Linked DNA regions of Homo sapiens: regions 1 and 2 are each linked to region 3. Evidence: promoter capture Hi-C in human tissues and cell types (Jung and others, 2019). All regions are on one chromosome and are shown on one strand. Each heading gives the region's core, a stretch centred on a gene start or on the middle of the fragment in contact. The rest is flanking DNA. Distances are from core to core; before and after follow the strand shown. Region 1 has its middle 53 kb from the start of MIR4418. Region 2 has its middle 73 kb from the start of ZBTB40. Region 3 holds the start of C1QA (complement C1q A chain).

Region 1 (2,700 bases), core at 140-2,639, 320 kb after region 3:
ACTCTGACTCCTTCAGGGTCTTATAAAATGAGAGCACGCACTTTCAACATCTAATTGAAGATAATGAGGATGATGCCCATGCTGAGGGTGGTGGCTGTCATGTGCCAGCACGGGCTTTGTGTCAACAGGGTGTATAGCATGGTCTCATGTGATCTTCTCAATAACCCTACAATGTAGTCAACTATCATTACTTTTTTCTTTTCTTTTTTTCTTTGGAGACAGGGTCTTGCTCTGTCACTCAGGCTGGAGTGCAGTGGCATGATCATGGCTCACTGCAGCCTCATCCTCCCAGGCTCAAGTGATCCTCCCGAGGAGCTGAAACTGCAGGCATGCACCATCACAGCTGGGTAACTCTTTAGTTTTTTGTGGAGAGGGGGTCTCTGTTTCTTGTCCAGGCTGGTCCCAAACTCCTGAACTCAGAGGATCCACCCACTTCAGCTCCCAAAGTGCTGAGATTACAGGCATGAGCTGCCACATCCGCATCCCGTTACTACTTTTACACAGATGAAGAAATTGAGGCCTACAGAGGGAAAGTAACTTGTCCAGGATTGCAGAATTAGCGACTGGGATTCAGACCCAAGCATCCTGACTCCAGAGCCTCGATTCTGAATTATTAGGCTATTTTGCTTCCCAGCAGCATCAGCAACAACAACTACTACTATTACTATTACCCACTACTACTTCACTGAGCACTTATTGTGTGCTAGGCATGGAGCTCAGGGTTTTAATTCTGTTCTAGCAAATCCATGCTGCAGAACAAATCAATCCAAAGTTGATTAGAACAATAAGTTATACTTTTGTGTTCATGCATCGGTAATTTGGACAGGGCTCAGTGGAGACTACTCATCTCTGCCTCAGCTGGGATGATTCCAAATGCCTGGAAGAGCTGGGGCCTGGCTGGGTACCTCCCTCTCTCTCTTCCTGCAGGTCAGGGCCTCCACGTGGCCTCGCCAGCATGGAGTTCCCAGGGTCATCAGTTTCTTTTGTTTTTTCTTTTTTTTTTGAGACAGAGTTTCACTCTTGTTGCCCAGGCTGGAGTGCAATGGCATGATCTTGGCTCACCGCAACCTCTGCCTCCCAGGCTCAAGTGCCTCAGCCTCCCGAGTAGCTGGGATTACAGGTGTGCACCACCATGCCTAGCTAATTTTGCATTTTTAGTAGAGATGGGGTTTCTCCATGTTGGTCAGGCTGGTTTCAAACTCCCGACCTCAGGTGATCCGCCCGCCTCAGCCCCCAAAGTGCTGGGATTACAGGTGTGAGGGTTTATCCGTTTCTTACATGGTGGCTGGCGTCTCCTAGAGACTAACACAGAAGCAGCAAGGTCCTTCTGCCCTGGCCTTGGAGGGCAGCAGCGTCACTCCTGCTGCATTCTGTTGGCTACAGACGAACATAACGTGGGTCCAGATCCCAGGGGCACGGGAAGTGAATCCCCCCATCTCAGTAAGAAGCTTGTCAAAGCACTGATGGCCACCTTCAACTCGCCATGCTTATGTTCTCATTTAAGAACTTTTACAATGATCTATGGGATTCATTTATCCACTCACATCCATTGAGCACCTACCGTGTGCCCGACACTGCTGCAGGTCCTGGGAGAGAGCAATGAATGTGAATGTCATTACACTCACTTTACAGATGAGGCAATGGAGACTTGCAGGGGTCTCAGGGACCAGCCCTTTCCCTGTAGACCCTCACGAGTTCTTTACAGTGAGCCCATGAGGCTGGTACTGCGACGGCCAGCCTTGAAGTGGAGAAGCGGGATCCGCATGCTGGCCAGGCACTTGCTCAGCACCCCTTCCTTGCCTTAGTGAGTTCCAAGTCTGCACTTCACTGTGACAGGGATGCATGGGTCCCACTGGACTTGGGGGGCATCCTGCAGGAGGGGCCAGGCTTATGGAGAAGAAGCCCGCGGTGCTGTTCAAATGCCAGCCCTGATGCGAGCGAGGGAGGGAGGGTTGCCTGAGGGCGGGAAGCGGTGAGGGAGCCGGGATAATGGCCCAGCCTGAACCTGTCGCCACGGCAACCGCAGGGGCCGTCTGGAGCCAGCAGCCTGCCAGGCCTTGGCCCCACAAAGCCCGAGAGGGAGGCAGAGGGGGCGGACCTGGCGGGGCATAAATCAGGGAGTTCTATGCCCCTGACTCCGGGCAGACGATTTATGGGACTACTCCAAGCCCACGAGATGCACAGGGGAGAGCTGAGAGGGTCTCCCTGTTCCCACCGCCCCTGGGGCCCCTGCTTGGACTCGGATGCGTGTGCAGGGTGGGCAGGAAGAGGCCCCTCCAGGCCACCCTCAGAGCTGCTGGAGGCCCCTGCCCCCACCCATCCCATAAGACACCTCTGTGCCCACTGTACCAGCATGCGGCCCCCACGCCAACAGCAAAAGTCTCAAGAAAGAGATACCTCTAAATTCTTGAAATGCATGCTGATATTTTCTATCTTATTCTGTTCTATTCCTTTTTAAAAATGCTGGTCACAACTCACTAAATTAATGTCATGACTCATTCATAGTTTGTGACCTGCAGTTAGGTCAACACTGATCCAAAGGAAGCCAGAGGGGGAAACTGAGGCTCACCGACTCCCTCCTCTCACACACAACTGGAGCAGACTTATATGCATCAATCAGCTCCTCCAGTCTCCCCACACACCTGGCTCTGCCTCAGGGCCCAAGCTTGTTCCCCACCACCCATTGTAGTCATTCAAGAT
Region 2 (2,700 bases), core at 77-2,576, 260 kb after region 3:
CCAAGGAAAGGGTGATCCCATCTCTCTTGTCTCTGGGGCTCACCATGAAGTCAGCGGAGTCCCAGCTGCTGATGTCAGGAGCGAATAGGACTAACAACCCACATGTATTGAGTGCTTGCTCTGCACCAGCACCACACAAGTGCCTTACATCCATAGCCTCCTCGAGTCCTTATCATAACCCTTTGAAGCAGGGGTTGAAATGATGCCCATTTCACAGATGAAGAAACTGAGGCCCAGAAATTGAAGTCCCTTGCCCAAGGTCACAAGGCTGGTCACGGCTGAGACAGGACCTCAGAGCTGGCTGCATCTCTCTGTAACCTAGGCTGCTCCAGCAACTGAGCCAGCTCCCAAATGCTCTATTGTGCTCCCTCAAAACCCCCTACCCGCCTAATGCCACACGCAGGTGCAAGACCCCTACCACGGGATGCCCAGAAGAATGAGCCGCCTCCAGCCCCCAACCCAAAAGAGAAGAGGAGCAGATTCCCGGGGGCCCTCCGGCTAAGCAGGCACCAGCCTCCAACCGGAAATTAACTCAAAGGAAGAAGGGAGCCGACTCTGGATGCAGAGAGATGAGGCTGATTGTTTTCTGTTCTTCATTAAGTAACAAAGGGAAAAACCAACTGTGCATGGTGTGTGAGCTTCCCCACCGGCACCACCCCAGACTCCTGGAACATCTTTATCCACTTACCCAGGGATTCAGGAAATTCTCTTCCAAGCCAGTTTTATTGGAGATTTTGGAAGCAAAGCTCACAGTCTCCCAATCAATAACAGATGAACAATGCTCACATTGCATTTTTTGGGGAGGACGTTTAGCCCGGGCTTGTCCCATCTGAAGAGCCTGCCCTTGGACATCCCTATTTGATCAGACATTGCTGGGAAATGAACTTCAGGGCAATTCTAGAAACCAGAGTCATTGGCATGAGGGTGCAGCAGGAAGGGGCGTCCTGGTCTGGGCCAGGCCTGGGGAAGCCCCATGTCTTGCAAAGGTTAGGGTCTGACCCCCCAGGTTCTCCCTGGCCTCAACTCTCTCCCCCGCCTCCTCCCTGGCTTATCCTCCACATGTGCTCTGCATGGGTATCGAATCTGCAGCCCATAAAGAATCAATCAAATCCAGTCTGGGCTCAGCCAAGGGCTGCAGCGCCAAAGTGCTAATGGAGGAAGGCCGGGCAGCCAGAGGGGATGGCAGGCCTGGCGGTGCAGTGGCGATTTCAGCATCAGCCTTCTTCCCACCCACACTCCATCCCATAGATACACGGAGCTGCAGAAGATGGCCCAAGAATGGGAACTGGGACCAACTCGTGATTCTCCATCTCCGCCTTCTCCACAGCTGGAGGGGTTGGGAGGGGTTGTGGGAGGGGAGCAGGGACACCTCCAGGGGACATAACACTTTTGTTACCATCAGACCATCTACAGTGAGAACAAACTACTTAGAGTGGGAAGCAGAGTCCACAGCTCATATCCTTCCTCTCAGCAACACTTATTGAGCACCTACAGCATGCCAGGCAGGGGGAGGGTAAAGTCCAGGCAACTCCCGTTTGCTGGAGTTTACATTCTAGCAGGTTTATTCAGCATCTCTGTCAAGAGAAAAGAAAAACCAAGAAAAACTATATACATTTTGGGACCCATCAAGGCATGACGGTTTTTTCCTAGTGCCATTTTGGAGATTCCATCACTCCCATGGCCAGGTCATTCATGCCATTCCCAACCTGTCTGTCAAAAAATCTGCTAAATATGTTGGCCCTGCCTGAGTCATGCCCATCATCTGGAAGATATTTGTTGAGCACCAACTAGGTTCAGGGCCCTGGTGGACATATGTTCTGGAAGCAAGAGGCAGGCCAGAATTGGAGCACCCAGTGGTGAAAGGCATGCTGAGGGGCTGTAGGAAAGCTTCAGTCTGAAGAGAGGGAGCCCCTCCACAGCAGGGCGGAACCAGCCCAGGTCCACAAGGCACAAATTCTTGTGCAAGCCCAACTCTGCCAGTGAATCACTATGTGACTTTGGGCCAATCTGTGTTCTCCTCTGAACCTCAGTTTCCCCATCTATAAAATGCGATGATGCACATATGAGTGTTCTCCAGGTACGGTCTTGCTTCAGAATCATCTCAGGGTGTGGGAGTTGGTGAAAATGCAGGTTCCTGGGCCCCACAGCAGGCCTCTGGCAAGGGTCCTCAGGAGGTGGGTCTAGGAGTCTGCATTTGTAACACATTCCCCTTGGGGTTTCCGATGTCCCAAAGTTTGAGCAAGACTCCTGGAGGAGACAGTGTCCAAGTGCTTGGCAAACGGGTCAATTCTGCTACAAAAGAAGGCAGCTGATAGGGGTGCAGATGGTCAAGGGAAACTCCCTGGAGGGGGCAGAAATGAGCTGGGCCTGAAAGCCTAATAACAGGAACGATAATCGTGCTATTGCTTGTGAAATGGCTTTCAAGCACAAGCCCTGTGCTAAGTGCTTTATGTGCATTACTTCATTTAACCATCATGATAGCCCTGGAAGAGAAGACTTCTTATCCCCATTTCATAGACGAGGAAGCTTAGGCTCTCCAATGGTTAAGTGACTTGCCCAAGATATTTGGATGCCCTCTGAGACACACTGCCAAATCCTCCCTAACAAAATACCACAGGCTACTCAGGGACCTCCTGAAACCTGGAGCCATAGAGGAGGCCTTTCTGGAACAGAAGGCTTTGGTACCTGAGGCCTAGAGGA
Region 3 (2,700 bases), core at 1-2,500:
AGACGGACTCCTGATTCTCAGTGCCACCCCAAGCCTTCACCCTGGAGGCCAAGTCAGGCCAAGGTCCAAGGGGCTGGGTCCCGAGGAAGGGTGCTTACCCGGCTCCCCTTGCTCCCCCTTGAGGCCTGGCCGCCCCCGTCTGCCAGGTCTTCCTGCCTCCCCTTTCTTCCCGTCTGGTGCTCGGCACAAGTCCTCGGTCACCATAGAGGCCAGCGATATGGCCAGCACACAGAGCACCAGCCATCCCCGGGGACCCTCCATGATGCCTCTGTGGAGACACGGGAGGGCCTGGGCAGGTTGGACATCACACTCACACCCAGCTCCCACCCTTGAGTCCCATGCACACAATGATATATGCACAGTCCTCCCCAAGTGCACATGCACCCTCTGGGGCTCTCAATGTCCACTCTCAATCCAGCCCCAGGACCCCACGCATATACACAGAACCACAAACTCACACACATCCACACATGCAACAGAGCACACCCACATCTTCACACACTCACACAAACACAGCTCTCATCCACGCACCTACAAAACACAGTAGGCAAACTCAGAAATCCACTATACCCCCCTAGACACACAACTGATACCCAAATAGACCCTGTCCCTCACTTGCACGGACACACACATTCATACACTCCCACAGGTAATCGATTTCATTGAACAAATATGTATTGAGCGCCTGCTCCTTATTTAATTAACACTGGCTCACCCAGATGGTGGAGCTCTGCATACACACAGGAATTCACAAACGCCCAAAGCGACACCTGCTCACTCTTCTGCATGCTCAGCGCCTTTCAGCATCCACCTGAGCATGGGTGACTGGCTGCCCCTACAGTCCCCTCTGCTGGGTCCCACTGCCAGCTCTAGCACCCCAGGCTTTTCCTGGTTTCTTATGTGTTATGGGGCCAGGACCCAGGAACCCTGGTCTTACCCTTCAGTTGTTAGGTCTAACTCATCGCCTCTCACCCTCCCCCAAGCCCTGGCTCAAGGAGTTAAGGTCCCTCCACTCACCCATTCTGGGTCCTGGATCAGTGCTGCACCCCCATCCCTGTCCTAGAATCAGGCACAGTTATTTCCCTCCCTCCCTGCCTCAGCTGCCCAGCCTCCTGGGCCAGCTCCCCTGGGTCCCAGAACTCTGCAGCCCCCTCCCTCTGGGACTCTGGCCTCACCTGCCTCCTGTTGTCAACTCCAACTGGATGCTCCTGCCCTCCGCCCAGGGACCCTGTGGGCTGCCCAGCAGGAGTGGCTCCAGGCTGTGGCCAAGTTTCACATCCCTTCCTACTTCCCCTTCTTCAGACCTGCCCCCTGAACTTCCCCAGTGGCCAGAAGCTCACCAGGGACATTTCAAGCAGACTTCAGCAAGACTGGGACATTGGGCGTCCTGCCCCAGCAACAGCTGGTGTGGGAGTGGGGGCAGTGAGGCCAGTGCCTGTGAGGATGTGGGGTGGAGGCCGTGCAGGGTGAGGTTCTGAGAACCAGCGAAGCACAGAACACCAGAGCGGAAGGAATCTTTAAAAAAATCTGTCCCTTGTAGGACTTTTCATGATTATGAAAGTGACATGCAATTCATTGCCAAAAGCTTGGAAAATACAAAGAAGAAAGAACAGTGCATTGGTGAGAAGGAAGCACAGCAATCTGTTTCTAGACTTGCTGCTTCCTAGTTGCATGTCTTTGGGAAATTACTTGACCTCCTGAGCCCTCAGTTTTATCTGTACACTGGGAACGGGGTCCTATATCATCTGATTATTATAACATTTTAATGACTTGCACATACAAAACACTTGGCACATGGTGAACACTTAGTCACTAGCTTTTGCCAACATTTAAAAAAACAGCAAGTCTAGGTGCTTTGGCTCACGCCTGTAATCCCAGCATTTTGGGAGGTCAAGGCAGGCGGATCACTTGAGGTCAGGAGTTCGAGACCAGCCTGGCCAACATGGTGAAACTCCATCTCTACTAAAAATTTAAAAAATAGCCAGGTGTGGTAGCATGCACCTGTGTAGTCCCAGCTATTTGGGAGGCTGAGCTGGGAGGATTGCTAGAGCCCAGGAGGTTGAGGCTGCAGTGAGCTTTGATCTTACCACTGCACTCCTGCCTGGGAGACAGAACAAGACCCCATCTCAAAAAAAAAAAAAAAAAAAAGAGATGGCAATGGCGGGCCGTCTGGAATGGCTGCTGTCATCACACTGGCTGCAGCAGGGAGGCACGGCCAGGGCTGCATGCTCCATGTAGCCAGTGGGAGCTGGGGACAGTGGGAACCCCGCCCTCCTGGGAACCACTGCAGCTGCCAAACCACAGCTGATCCTGCTTCATGGAGCAGGTGGGGGCCCCCGCCATCCCCCATGCAGCTGCAGCTGCCTAAACTGCAGCTGTGGACCCAGGCATCCCTGCAATCTTGGGGGCCCGGGAAGGCCCCCCGCCCCACCCTTCAGGCTCAGAAGTGTCTGCTCCCACTGCCTGGCTTCTCCCTCCTCTTGGCGCCCACTCTGATCTTAGAGCAAAGTTGGTGCTGAGCCTGGGTGCTGTCGCAGCCTGGCTGGGTGTGGGCATGCTTGGGGCAGTGCTGACACACTAGACCCCTGCTGCCTTGGCCCCCTCTGGACTTTGGGCACTGACTAGCATGGAAGGAAAGCCAAGGGGAAACTGAGGGCAGCTCGGCACTGGCCTGCAGACGCTCCTTGGCATGAACAGCCT

What was found. Contacts are between HindIII fragments. The study calls those that stand out against the background at their distance.
Region 1: a contact is called between a fragment that was not itself captured here and the fragment with the promoter of C1QA in region 3, in 3 of the 25 tissues and cell types used here (IMR-90 fibroblasts, mesenchymal stem cells and spleen).
Region 2: a fragment that was not itself captured here is called in contact with the fragment with the promoter of C1QA in region 3 in 3 of the 25 tissues and cell types used here (IMR-90 fibroblasts, aorta and dorsolateral prefrontal cortex).

Annotation. Positions count from the first base shown.
Region 1 is chr1:22,318,034-22,320,733 of GRCh38, reverse strand. No RefSeq gene overlaps it. Among named protein-coding and RNA genes, the nearest start is that of MIR4418, 53 kb to the right of the region's middle. The HindIII fragment of the contact is 3,603 bases long and covers 1-2,700 here.
Region 2 is chr1:22,377,727-22,380,426 of GRCh38, reverse strand. No RefSeq gene overlaps it. Among named protein-coding and RNA genes, the nearest start is that of ZBTB40, 73 kb to the left of the region's middle. The HindIII fragment of the contact is 5,446 bases long and covers 1-2,700 here.
Region 3 is chr1:22,635,178-22,637,877 of GRCh38, reverse strand. It overlaps C1QA (complement C1q A chain), which reads right to left and starts at 1,250. Exons shown (of 3, transcript NM_015991.4): 1 at 1,176-1,250; 2 at 99-268. The coding sequence starts at 261. The HindIII fragment of the contact is 11,741 bases long and covers 1-2,253 here.